Linked DNA regions of Homo sapiens: region 1 is linked to region 2. The links are contacts of gene promoters, found by promoter capture Hi-C in blood cells and fetal thymus (Javierre and others, 2016). All regions are on one chromosome and are shown on one strand. The core of a region is centred on a gene start or on the middle of the fragment in contact, and the rest is flanking DNA. Distances in the headings are between cores, read along the strand shown. Region 1 overlaps RPAP3 (RNA polymerase II associated protein 3). Region 2 holds the start of SLC38A2 (solute carrier family 38 member 2).

Region 1 (6,560 bases), core at 1,129-3,628, 1.3 Mb after region 2:
CCTCCATTCCCTACCTGCTGATAAAACCACAGCCCGAAGAGTTTTTTAAAAAAAAAAAATCAATCACTAACAGAAATTCTTCAGTTTGTAGGATGGCAGATAGGAAAAGATACAACTTGCTGAAACAAAGAAACTTCCTCTGCTTACTGGGATTCAAAAAAAAACAAAAAAACGAAACAAAAAAAAAAAAACAGGCTGAAATCATTTGGAACCAAGATGGCCAAGTGGAGTTTGCACAAAAACGAGTTTGCTGATGTCACAAACTGAATTTCCACCAAGTTCTACTAACTACCCCAAATTTGCACCTGCAATCCCATTAGTTAGCAAGAAGAGATAGCTACATATGCCCAAGAACTTTTCCCTTTCCTTCCACTAATTACCTGCTAATTCCAGTATCCACCTCCCTAAACCCTTTCTAATAAAATTACTGCCTTAAGGCCAGGACAAGGAGACAGATTTGGGTTTGATTCCTGTCTCTTTAGGAGTCAACTTTCAATATAAATAAAGCCTTTTCTCAAAAACCTGATGTCACAGTATTGGCTTCAAGCATATCACACAGTGAGTCCCTTTCGCTCAACAACACCGATTCCCTTCCTTTCCATTCTGGTCTTTTTATCGTTTTCCATTCTCATGTATAATTAAAATTTTTCATTAATATTGACTGGCAATTAGCCAGAATGTACTAAACAAAATTAGCCAGAATGCTACTAAACAAAAAGATAATCTGGTACATTGCGGAAGCTGCATTCCTCCAAATCTATTCGTGATCTAAACTGTGGAAAGAAAACATAATTCCCTAAGTTCAGTATCTTTGAACCATGGGTAAGCTACATGAATCTCTGCTTCTTTAACTTGGGCACTCATCAGGATGACTGAGTGCCAGCTGTTATAAAGTCTTACCTTGTTTTGCCTCATTTAGCTTTCCCAAAAATGTTCTTGCAGTTCCTCTTCTGGCAAAAGCTTTAGAATATGAGCCATCTAATAAAATGGCTTGTGTGCAGTCTTTTTCAGCTTCTTCATATCTATTGAACATGATAAAATTACTGACTGGAAAAAAGGCAGCTTATGGAAAAATGTCATATAAACTAAGTTTCTAATTTAAAAAGCTTGTATATAATTTCAATCACTAACTTCTAAATCTGTGTTTGAAGTGGAGAACTATTTTATAAATTTTTTATTCTCACCAAATCCTGGAATCATTTGGTGAGGAGGGAGAAGGTACCAGATTGAGGGAATGTTAGGAGAGTCTGCTGGAGCGATGAAATAATAATGCAAAAATATGACTAGGGCAGACAAAAGAATGCCACTGCTTCTCTGCCTACCTCTTCTCCAAGTCTCAATATGCACAGGTATTACATTAGAATTTTGACTGGCATTAGTTTTCTAATAAAACTTTATTAACATTTACCCACAGTAAACCTCCCATACTCATAGAAAAACAAAAAAATGAGAACTTGGTACGAATGTGATAGCATATCATCTAATACTTTGCATAAATTCTACTCAGCCATGCAACCAGCAATCAATTCAGACTTACAGACTTACTCATTACTGCTCTACAACAACAAGGTGCTTAAGAAGAGCTCAACCCCCTCCACCAAAAAAACCCAATAACAAAAAAACTTCAGACATTCCCATATATTAATAGGACATTAATGAATTATTGTTAATTTCTTAGGAGTGCTAATGGTTGTGGTTATGTATAAAATATCCTTTCTTTAGCAATAAACGTCATAATGTTTATGATTTGCTTTACAATAATTCGGGGGGAAAATGCTGAAACAAATATGACCAAAAAAAGTATGGCTTGTTAGAACTAGATGATGGACACATGGAGTTTATTATACTACTTTTGTATAAGTTTGAAAAGTTTCATAAGAATATTAAAAAAAAAAAAAACACTCCTGTAATTGCATTCTCCCCAAGGCCTAAATGGATGTCATCTTGCCCTCAAAACAAAATCTCATATGAAAAAAATCAGAATTTCGAATGAACTTAAACATCTCTGATTTATTTAACTCACTTTCCAGCAAGAGATAAAGAATATATCTGTGTTCATGCCCTTATCAATGTTATTTTCTACTTGCCTGATTATATCATTCAAGATACCTGCATGGCCCCCATACTTTTCAAGATAAAGTCCAATTCCTTTGGAGCGCAAAGTCAGGGGCCTGCCTGAGTATCTGGCCTTCTCTCTGCCACTGTCCCCTGCAATAACAGCCATAATACGAACCACTCACCCTTTCCAGGTTGAGGTACCATCAACCTGCCTACTCCCACGTCTTTGAACCTGCACTAGAACACTTGACCTGTTTCCTGTTTTTTCACCTCACTAACTCATACTACTCCTAAACAATTTCAAGATGCTTTCCAGGAATTCCCCTGCCTGGACTCAGTCTATGCCAGTATTCTTCCCACTCTGAACTCCTATAGCACGTGTCCTTCATAGCGCTATCTTAGCGTATTTTCACAAATATTGGTCTCCTTTTCTGTCACTCCCTGCAAATTTCGGGTTTCTTAAAAACAACTATACATTTAATATTTGTATACTTAATACCTTCCACAGTGCCTCACAGAACACCTGATACATTTTAGCACAATAAATATTTGCTGAATAAGTAAATCAAAAAATTTCCAACACCCAAATTCAAAGAAAATTTAGAATATAAATGTTTAGGAAATCATTTTAATTGTATATTTAATTGCATATTTAATTGCATGTTCTACTGTACAGCTGAAGAAAACCCAACAATTTTTCTAAAAGTCTGAAGTTGCCACAGAGGTAGACGATTATTCTTTGAAAATAGACTCACCTAAGTCCTTTAAAATTATTACACGTCTCCTGTGCACTCCATTTGTAAAGTGAATTTAGAAAAATCCAATCAACAAACATCTTTTAGGTGGTTGGAGAAAAAGACAAACTAATCAAAAATAGAATAAAAATGGTGAGTGCGAAAAACTATCATCTCTGCCTAGCTCCTTAGCCCTGATTCCTTCTGATTTTCAGTCAGGTCCACTTGCCCTAGGTCTACTCTGGCTCTAGTGTAAATGCCGCCCCTAATCACCATTAAGTGAACCACCCTCTACTAAATCAAGTCTTAGTCTGGTTCCAGTTCCAGCAACCAAGATTCTACCTTATTTTTGTGACCAACTCTCAACCCTGTTTCCCAAATCTAATATCTAATACTACTGGGTTATTTTCTTCTTATCCTATCTCTAAATCTATGCTTTACTCCCTCTAAGAATAGGACTCAGATTTGTTCTTGGTCAGTCCTCTTCAAGGACTACAATGTTGGCCCAAACTTCTGTCCTTATTTCTGATTATCTTCTTATTTCTTCAGCCTTTCTGAAGCTAACCATCTACCAGCCTACATTCCACAATTTGCCAGCTCACAGGCACTCCATTATTGTAACTCAAGGATGTCTTGCTCATCTCCCAATGCAAACTACTAATTTAGACTATCACCTCCAGAAAGCACATTCTCTAGGAATCCCGGTTGGCCTAACTAGGTGAATTTCTTCTTACTCCCTACTGCTACCCCGCACACTGGTAGGTAAGACTGACTATACTGCTGGTTCTAATTAGCTCTAATTTGACACAGTTTATAGAACCTCAAGCTATAGGATGGTTACCTAAACTAGGAGTAGTCTAAGCTTGAAATGTTGCTTTTTTATGTTCCTCACATAGTCCGTAATACATAACAACAGTCTCCATGTACAGAAAAAAATTCTGATATTAACTGTGAATCTAAAAGATACACTAGGAAAAGATACAAGTAAGAGTCATAAGTTCTTTTAATTTAAAATATACTCTGCTAACTTGGTATAATATATTCCACTAATACGATTATAAACTAAAGAAATAAAACTGATACAATAAATTAGATATCTTATAAATGCATATATAATCTCTCACCTGTAAGAAGGCATTACTCTTAGCATTAGTCAAACCAACGAACTCAGGCTTTACAATTTTTAAACCAATGCACAATTCTTCGATAGCAAAAATCAAAATTTTCATAAGTGAGCAAGAGATGCAATGATCTTCACTCTGACTAGTCAACAAAAGAATCTATCTCCAGTGATATCTATTACTTTAAATGAGGTTAAATATATAATCAGAATTTATTTCTATGACAGGAGCTCCTAACCTGAGATTGTCTGAGGGATGTGGAAACTTGTTTAGGAAAAAAACTGTATCACTGTTTTCACTAAACTTCAAATAAAATTTAGCTATCTTTCAAATACAAATGCAGACAATAGTATCTATCACTTTGTCACCAATAAAAATCAGATATTTTGGCCGGGCGCGGTGGCTCCTGCCTGTAATCCCAGCACTCTGGGAGGCCGAGACGGGCAGATCACCTGAGGTCAGGAGTTTGAGACCAGCCTGGCCAACATGGCAAAACCCCATCTCTACTAAAAATACAAAAATTAGCTAGGTGTCATGGCGCATGCCTGTAGACCCAGCAACTTGGGAGGTTGAGGCAGGAGAATTGCTTGAACCTGGGAGGTGGAGGTTGCAGTGAGCCAAAATTACACCACTGCACTCCAGCCTGGGTGACAGAGGGGGACTCTGTCTCAAAAAAAAAAAAAAAATCAGATATTTCCATATCACATTATAACGGTTACTGGTATCTCAAAATATTGCTTATGCTCACCACTATTCAGAATTACAGTAAAAATTTAACCTGTTGCTTATTTGCATGTGATTGCAGTGTCTGGTTTATAGATACTCTTGTGACAAGGCTGGCAACTGTTGGGCAACTCTGCCCTAGTAGTTATTCAGAAGACAAAGAGCTAAGGCATGTGTTATCACATTGGAAATCTAATCATCTACGTTGCTTCAGGTATTCCCTATCCACACTTGCTTGTTGATCAGTACGTGGAAGATGTGTCGAGGATCATCCCAAAATTTGGTGTCCTTACTGAAACCTTACAATCATGTCTTTAAAATTTTTTTAACATTAACTTGTCTGTATTTTAAATGTAGTTTCAAATACAGTACAATCACATGCAAATAAGCAGCAGGTTAAATTTGTACTGTAATTCTGAATATTGGTGAGCATAAAATACAGCACTTGCCTGTATTTTAAATGTAATTTCTCATTTTGAGGTGTGTTAATAAAAAATCAAATATACTACTATATCACAATTTTTAATATTTTCAAAACTATATTTTGATATAATTGGTTTCCTTTGTAATCCTAGTTGTACAGTTAAGCATTTAAAAATATCCTGAGAAGCGTTCAACATACAGCTAAAGGGGAATTCATGGCACTGAAGAAGTTTCGAATTCCTATTTATACTATTTACAGGCTTTTTAAAATTCTGGCATTAGTCTGTAAAGTATAACAAGAGAAACAAAGTCTAAGTCTAAGTTTCTGCCATCGGATATAATTCTACTGATTGTCCAACTTGGGCACAACCAGAAAAAGCTGGTTAATATAGGATCAAATGTTTGTTACATATGTTATTAATCAGCAGTTTCAATGACAGCAGTTCTCTTTTGTTATACATGTATGTATATAAAACATTTCCAGATAAGACTTTGCCCAAGGGGCTCTGAAGTGAAAAATAATTTTTAATCAAGATCCAGAATACTATACATAAAGCGACTAGAGAAAAACTGGTAAACTGTGTAATGCCAGACTTAAAAGCGGGAAAATATTAACAAGAACATCTACTGAATACACACCTTGTGCCTGGAACTATGTATACCACAGGTACATAAACACACACATACACATACACACACACACACACACACACACACACACACTACTTTTCCCCTCTCATTTCACTTTAATTTAAATGCTCAAAAATACATAAATTAAATTTTAACTTACTTAAATTTACCATAAATTGGCATGTGAGCTAACCTAACACGCCATAATTGGCATGTTAGGTAACTTATGGTAAAAATTTACCAATTTATTGTAAATTTTTATCCTGAACAGCACTAAAATGTAACCAATACTTACTTCTGAATCTTCAGATAGGCCATAGCTCTGTTAGCTGGAAGAAGGGCATTAGCACCATCTGCTGCTATCCCTCGAGTATAGCATTCAATTGCTCTTTCATATTTCCCCTCTTTGAAAAATCCATTCCCCTGTTATTTTGTAGAGAGATATGGAGAATAAAAAAAAAATTTCAAAAAAAATAAATGAATTCAAATCTTATGAAACACTGCAAGGATATTCACCAACAGTATTTCAAGAAAGAATATTGTTAAAAATCTGGCCCATGAGACACGTTTTAAAATCTGTTGGTTTGGGTTGTTTCTTTTTTAATGGCATTATTCTCTTTTCAGTACTAAAAAGGAAAAACATGTATACTACATTACTTTGCAGCATTCACTATTATTCCATTAATTACATATTACGCAAAGCTTAAATTTAAAAACCTATTTTAACAAAGGTCCAAATAATATACTGTCTTAAGTTACATTAGAAGCTGTACAAAAGGACTTCATAACTCAAATAAATTTTGTGAAAGAATACAGTACCAGAATTATAAAGCCCACTCTTCAATAACTTTAATATGCCCAAATATAAGAT
Region 2 (6,791 bases), core at 1,705-4,204:
GTATTTATGCTGGAAAGCACAGAAGTAATTAAGTCTAACTGTGCAACTGTGGGGGGAACCATTTAAAAATAAGTACTTACTAAAGTATTCATTTTTTGCCACAACATGTGGCAATCGAACAGGTCTGACAAAAGCAAACATTAAAAAAACATGTATGGATTGCTTTTCAGGGTCCAGAAAATTATGACCTCCTCGTCTTAAAACAAACATGTTCCAGGCTGGGTAAATACCACCACACCTTGTATGTTTAGAGAAATTTTCTTTTCCTTATTCACGTAAGGGGCCACAGGTCCTTAAGAACTGTGTCGATTTACCAAAATGATTTGGAGCTTATTAGGATTTTCAGCTTCTGATTTGCCAAAACAAAATTTATACCTACCCTGGCTTTAGCCATAGTTTTTTTAATATCTACCATCTGTTACAATTTTGTTTTAACTATTCCCACTGACTTAGAAGACTTCTGGCTTAATTTGTCAGTTTTAAGGACTGCCCTATTTTTTTCTAGTTGGCTTTCTTGATATTGTGCAGTATGTAGTAGAATAAAGAGATTTTTTGGGGTTTCTCATACTTTTAATTTTAAGCAAGTAACTTTTGAGTCAGCTACTCCAACTGTAAATTCAGTTTCTGGAGCCAAAATATGTTTTACCATAGTAACTGCCCTGCATGGCAGACTCACTACTTACACATACTTACATAAAAAGAGCAATTCCAGTATTAGCCATGGCATAAGAAAGCCCAAGGATTCCACTGCCCACAATCGCATTGCTCAGATTAAATACTGACATTCCAAAGGAAGTAGTACCTGGATGCTACATAGAGGGAAAACGATAACCAAACATATAACAATAATTAAATGGAGAAAACCAGCTTTGGGCAAGTTAGATTTGAATTCTAAAAGTAAAACTATTCTTTTACTCCATAAAGCCACTGACAGACAAATTACTATTTTTAACTTACAAATTCTGTTTCATACTTCTTCTTCCCCAAATTCGATTCAAGTAAAAAGTTCTGGTTTTCAGGATCTACATCTGCATAATGGCTGCAAAAAATATAGACATATATAATTGTAAACTGGATTGAAATATCTATCATTACACACAAGACTGCTTTAACATAAAATACCCTCCAACAGCATAGCTCTGATACAACATCTTTACTTAATGTATAAATATTAACTAGGAGTTGACTTTCACACCAGCTATCTTGTCATTACAACAAGATAATCGGATACTCTTTCAGAGATTACGCACCTTCTCTAAATGCTATAGCAAATTAAAGCAATGGAAGCAGAGTCCTAGGTAACTCCCTGAACCCAACCCATGCAAGCCGTTTTTTCAAAAGTGTCACAACTTCTCCCACCTTTTCAGAGCAGCTTGCTTGGTGGGGTAGGAGTAGTTGAAGTCGCTGTTGGAACTGTAGCTGCTGCTGTCTTCATCCGGGGAAATACTGAATCGTCCCATTTCGGCCTTCTTCATGCTAAGCACTGGGAGGAATCGGGTGCAGCTAGTAGCGCTGGGCTCCTTTTGTCCTTGGCGGTGGGTGCAGCGGCCCGCGAGTCGGCCTGCGAAAGTAGAGGCGGCGCGTCAGGACCGCAGCGCCAGCCCGCCGCGGTCACGTGACGCCGCCCGGAGGCGCAGCGCGGCTGATTCATCCCAGGCCAGGCGAGTGGAAAAGTACCAGCCGCGCGCGAGGGGCGGGGGCGCGCCGAGGGGCGGAAAAGTACAGACGGCGGAGCCGCGGGGAGAACAAAGATGATGCCACCGCTGTGTTGCGGCCGTCGAGGCCCCCTACTCCGGCAGATTTCAGTATTTCACCCTCTCTATTGTCCCTCGTCGGAGTGGAGGGGGCGAGGGGGGGTTCTGTTTTGCTTTTTCCCAGTCGCTCCAAACTTGCACAGGCACTCAGGGCACACATCCAGCCCCGACCCTGGCTCGTGTGCATGCAACCTAGGCGCACGGCTTTCCGTTTCTAGCATTTGGAACAGCAATGCTGCGTAATCTGTCCTTTACTGCCCGGAGTCCCCACACGGAGAAATGCCTCTGCCGCAGACAGCCTTCCCCAGGAGGCGGAAAGGGCCGACACTACTCCTCTCTCGAGGGGGGCGAACGCCCGGGCCCCGGGAGCTGGGGGTTTGTTTACACACGCGCGCCAGTGCCCTCAAGCACACCCGTCCACAGGCAGCTGGCCCGCGAGTGCTACGCCCGCCCAGCCCCTCCTATGTCCGGAAAGAAAACTGATGCAATATCGATCGTCGATTGTCAAATGTTCCCAACTCGTCTTCCCCAATCTTGGCCTCTCCTGTAATACATGCCCAAGCCCACCTCCGCCGCCCCCAGATTCCTGGCTCCCTGGACTTAATTTTTTTTTTTTATTAAATGCAAATCAGTCACAAGACTTGCCGCAGCAGAGCCGCTGGCCGGGCTAGCTCCCCTCCCCCTAATGGGAAGATGCGGCTCCGCACCGTGCAGGCACGCGGCCCCCGCCCAGCGCCCGCTCTCCTACCCACGTCGCGGGCGCGACACCCGCGCGGCGGGCCAGGGTGGAAGGCTGGCCAGCCCAACCGACAACGCCCGCCTCGAAAGGAAACGGACCCCGCGGCCGCCTTCCCGCGCGGCCCCTCCCGGAAGCCCCTCCCCCACTCTCGCCCGGGCCCCGCGCCCTTCCCACAGACGCCCCCCCGCACGCGTTACCTCGGTGGTCTCTATTCTCACGCAGACGTCTTCAGTGGGTTTCTCTCAGTCAAATACAAATCATAAAAAACAAACAAAAAATTTCCCCAAATCCAACAACAGGCAGGAAAAATAATTTTAATAAAAAAGGAAAAGACAAATTGCCGCCCCAATCCTCCGGCGTCCGCCGTGTCAAGGGAAAGGCGCGAGCGTGCGGTAACGCGTGGTCGGGCTGCTGCTAGCAGTACTGGAAAGGCGTTCTAAGGCGGCGGCGTCGCGCGGCTGTGGAGCAGCCCTGCGAGCGGCGGGTTATAGCGGCACCCCGGGGACGCGTCAGTGGGCGGGACCGCGGCCGCCCGGGCGCCTTCTCTTTGTGTATCAACACCACCTGGGCCCCGCCTCCGACCCGCCCAGACCTAGGCCCCGCCTCCCTGCCCCTCCCTCTGCGGCCCGCGCCCGCGGCCCAGCCCCGCCCGCAGGCGCCCCCAAGACTCTCCCGCAAAGCCCAAGCCCACTCTCTCCAGCTTTCTAGATAGTCTGGAAAGACCCCCAGATGCTTCCCCTGCCTATCCTTTTCAGCCAGGGTTGGTGCTCAACACATGCGGTTGTCTTTGAGGAGCCATCTCCTTAAAATTTTCTCCTGTCCGAGTCACCAGCAGTCCTTGCTTTCGGGGGACACATCAAGGCTTTTGGGGGACACCACCCTCCCACCAAACACTTTCTTGATTGTTATTTTTGTGATTTACAGTGAAGTTTTGTCTCACAAACTTGGGCCAAGGCAGCAAGGTTGTCCTGATGGTTTGTTGTTCTTTCTTTTCCACCTAGACCTGCTTTCACTCTTCAAAACTAGCCGGAGGTCGGCGAGCAGCTCCTTTTCGGGATGTGCTTTTTGTACGGCCATGGAAACTGGACTAGCGGAAAGGCTACCTTTTGGCCAGCAAGCCAGGCCCCTTAGAAAGAGGCCCCAGTGGGGAGCCCGGCGCTCCTAAGGCCGTTTGGGAGTCCCCAGTTTTCCACTCGCTGACACGTTGCTTCTCTTATCCCACCACCGCCGCCCCGGGCAAAGGCACTGCCTTGTCTGAATGCGGGTCTGAGGCGCTTTCTGCGGAGCCTGGTCCTTTCCCTTCAATGGTGATGTGTGTGGTCTTGCTGAGCCAGGCAACTAGGGGGACCCTTCGCTGTGGAAAAATTGGTGCTGCGGGAAAGGCAAGACTCACTCCCTTGCAGGAAACAAAGACCCCTTAGGAGAGAGAAATGTTCATGGAATGAATGAATAAACAAGTTTGACCTACTGCTCTCTTCCTTTTGGGGACTTGGGAGAAATTGGGCAGGGCATAGAGGAAAGGGCTGGGTGTGATCGCAGTTTTTGCTTTCAATGTTTTACTGAGGAAATCCGTACAACTGCCTATTTCCGCCGCACGTGAGGCTTCGGGTGCCCTCGCCTGCACCAGTGTTTATGATTGACAAGCGAGGTCCCGATTTCCCCCATCACACTCCTGTGTTCCCTACCCCAAACCTTCTACTCTGTTCAGGCCAGTCTTCCCTACCGCAAACCTTCTACTCTGTTCAGGCCAGTCTTAAATAATAGCCATTCTTGCTTTGGTGTCCAATCTCCTCTCATCCCCTTAAATGCCGCTGTCATGCAAGGCTTAGTCTTCGAGCCACAGGAAAGCGCCCCGCATGCCTTAATCCCTCCGTACTCAGCCCTCTTTTTGCAGGTACTATTTTCTAAAACAATATGGTGACGGACTTTTAAAAATCCGTGCTGTCATGCACTCAAAATCGTTCCAGACTATTTGTAGTATCATCTGCCCAAAGATTGTGAACTCCCCAAGGGCAGGTTTGGAATTTGACACACAATTAGGGCTGAAAAAACTATCTTCCTTCCACATACATTCCCCAATAAAATCAATCAACTCTTCTTGTCACAACAATCTTGGTAGTGGTAGGTTAGAGAGGAGTCCCAGGAAGTTTCTTTATATTAGGTTTCAACTGATAACAATCAAAAGGTCTTAAACCACTTTTTCATTCCAGATGAATCTCTGGTCGTTTCCTCTGCCCAGTTAGAGGTGCTAAGGAGGCCCTCAGGGTTGGTAGTTATGGGTGGCAAGTGGCACTATAAGTAAATCTCATGTCTTTTGGACTTTTTGGTGGTTTGTATTGCAACACATATTTAGGAGAAGCACAATACCTGTACAGCTGAGGGCAAAGTGGAGGGCAGGGGCGGGGGGGGGAGCTGCAATATTGATCTGGTCTCTGTATGATCAGAACTTGAACAGTAAATGACAAAAAAAGAAGGGTGGAGGGGTGAAACTTCCATGTTTTTATTGCCAGTTTGATTGGTCTTTTCGAGGGCCAAACTGAGGCATGCCTGCTAACTCCATCAGACTTCCAACTGAGGCCTGATGTGCTCTGAGCAATTGCTGTTATGCTTTGGGCTTGAATGCATTGGACACAGTGTCCTCATTCAATTTCTGGGAAACGATATTGCCAAATACCTATTGGTCAGTGCGCTATAATTTTGTTTGATTTCTAAGCTAATGTTCTAGAAGAGCAGCATTTTTTAAACTTTCAGAATGGGACCAAGTGGTGGATAGTGATGAATTCAGTGGATTAGTACTAGCTTTCTATTTTCTTCAATGCAGTAGAATAGAATAATTTTTTTTAAAAAATCAGTATGCCATATGTACTATTATTCTGTAAATCTTTTATCTTGATTATGTGTATATATATGTGTGTATATATGTATACATATGTATACATATATGTGATTATGTGTGTCTGTATATATATGTGTGTGTGTATTATGAGTTGTGATGTAAAACAGGGGTCCCCAACCCCTGGGCAGCAGACTGGTACCAGTCTGAAGCCTGTTAGGAACTGGGCTGCACAGCAGGAGGTGAGTGGCAGTTCAGCCAGCATTTGGCCTGATCAGTGGTGGCATTAGATTCTCATAGGGGCACGAACCCTATTGTGAACTGCACATGTGAGGGATCTAGGTTGCATACTTCTTATGAGAATCTAACTAATGCCTGACAATCTGAGGTAGGACAGTTTCATCCTGAAACCATCTCCCCCAATTTTTTTGTGGAAAAATTGTCTTCCACAAGACTGGTCCCTGGTGCCAAAAGGTTGGGGACTGCTGATGTAAAATGTATGTCTTGCTGTGGTTTGGGGGGGGGTCAAAGAATTTTGAAAGCTACTGAAATTGAATCTTATTTCCTATCCTAAGACAGAAAAACTGTCACAAAAATCAGTTATCAATTCTGGATTTTCAGGAATGCATTGTCAGGATAGATTGTTAGAACTATTTATTGAAGGTAGGTAGCTATGTTCTGTACAATTTTTTGACCATTATTTCCTGATAAAATAGAGTGGTTCTGTTTCCTGGAAGCTGTCATTGGTTGACATTTTCTACTTGTTGTTAAACAACTGGTTTTTAAGATGACCCTCAAAATTCTATTTATCCAGCACTACAATTTGCCAAAAGTGGGCTTACACATAAAATTTGCTTTTCTCTACCCTCCATTTCCAACTGTATAGTTTCATTCGCAGATTAGCTTCTATGGCTTTCTTTTATCTGTCCCAGCCCATATTTCCAATCTTATTTCCCATTATTCCTTGTGGTAGGCAGCTTCTAGGATAGGCCCCAATAAATCACCACCTGCTGGTATTCATACATATTTGTAATCCCCTCTCCTTGAATATGGGCTGGACCTAGTGATGCACTTCTATGTGGCAAAAGTGATGGCATGTCACTTCTGAGGCTAGGTTACAAAAAGACAGACTGGGCGTGGTGGCTCATGCCTGTAATCCCAGCAATTTGGGAGGCCGAAGAGGGTGGATCACCTGAGGTCAGGAGCTTGAGACCAGCCTGACCAACATGACGAAATCCCGTCTCTACTAAAAATACAAAAATTAGCTGGGCATGGTGGTGCATGCCTGTAATCCCAGCTACTCGGGAGGCTGAGGCAGGAAAATGGCTCGAACCTGGGAGGCGGAGATTGCGGTGAGCCGAGTTCACGCCATTTCACTCCAGCCTGGGCAACAAGAGCGAAACTCCTTCAAAAAAAAAAGAAAAAAAAGGACTGTGGCTTCTATCTTGTTCTCTTGTTCACTTTC

Evidence for each region. The method cuts DNA at HindIII sites, captures the fragments that hold promoters and counts their contacts. A CHiCAGO score of 5 or more calls a contact.
Region 1: a fragment that was not itself captured here is called in contact with the fragment with the promoter of SLC38A2 in region 2 in 1 of 17 cell types (naive CD4 T cells); the score reaches 5.8 in naive CD4 T cells.

Annotation. Positions count from the first base shown.
Region 1 is chr12:47,680,796-47,687,355 of GRCh38, forward strand. RPAP3 (RNA polymerase II associated protein 3) reads right to left here. Exons shown (of 17, transcript NM_024604.3): 9 at 5,985-6,112; 10 at 901-1,022. Among named protein-coding and RNA genes, the nearest start is that of RPAP3, 22 kb to the right of the region's middle. The HindIII fragment of the contact is 2,548 bases long and covers 1,105-3,652 here.
Region 2 is chr12:46,369,819-46,376,609 of GRCh38, forward strand. SLC38A2 (solute carrier family 38 member 2) reads right to left here and starts at 2,955. Exons shown (of 16, transcript NM_018976.5): 1 at 2,691-2,955; 2 at 1,360-1,561; 3 at 958-1,039; 4 at 694-809. The coding sequence starts at 1,475. It overlaps SLC38A2-AS1 (SLC38A2 antisense RNA 1), which reads left to right and starts at 2,965. Exons shown (of 2, transcript NR_187299.1): 1 at 2,965-3,044; 2 at 3,495-3,960. RefSeq lists enhancers at 1,885-2,034, 2,115-2,444, 2,134-2,837, 2,695-2,774, 3,455-3,514 and silencers at 2,465-2,664, 2,865-3,204. The HindIII fragment of the contact is 15,961 bases long and covers 1-6,791 here.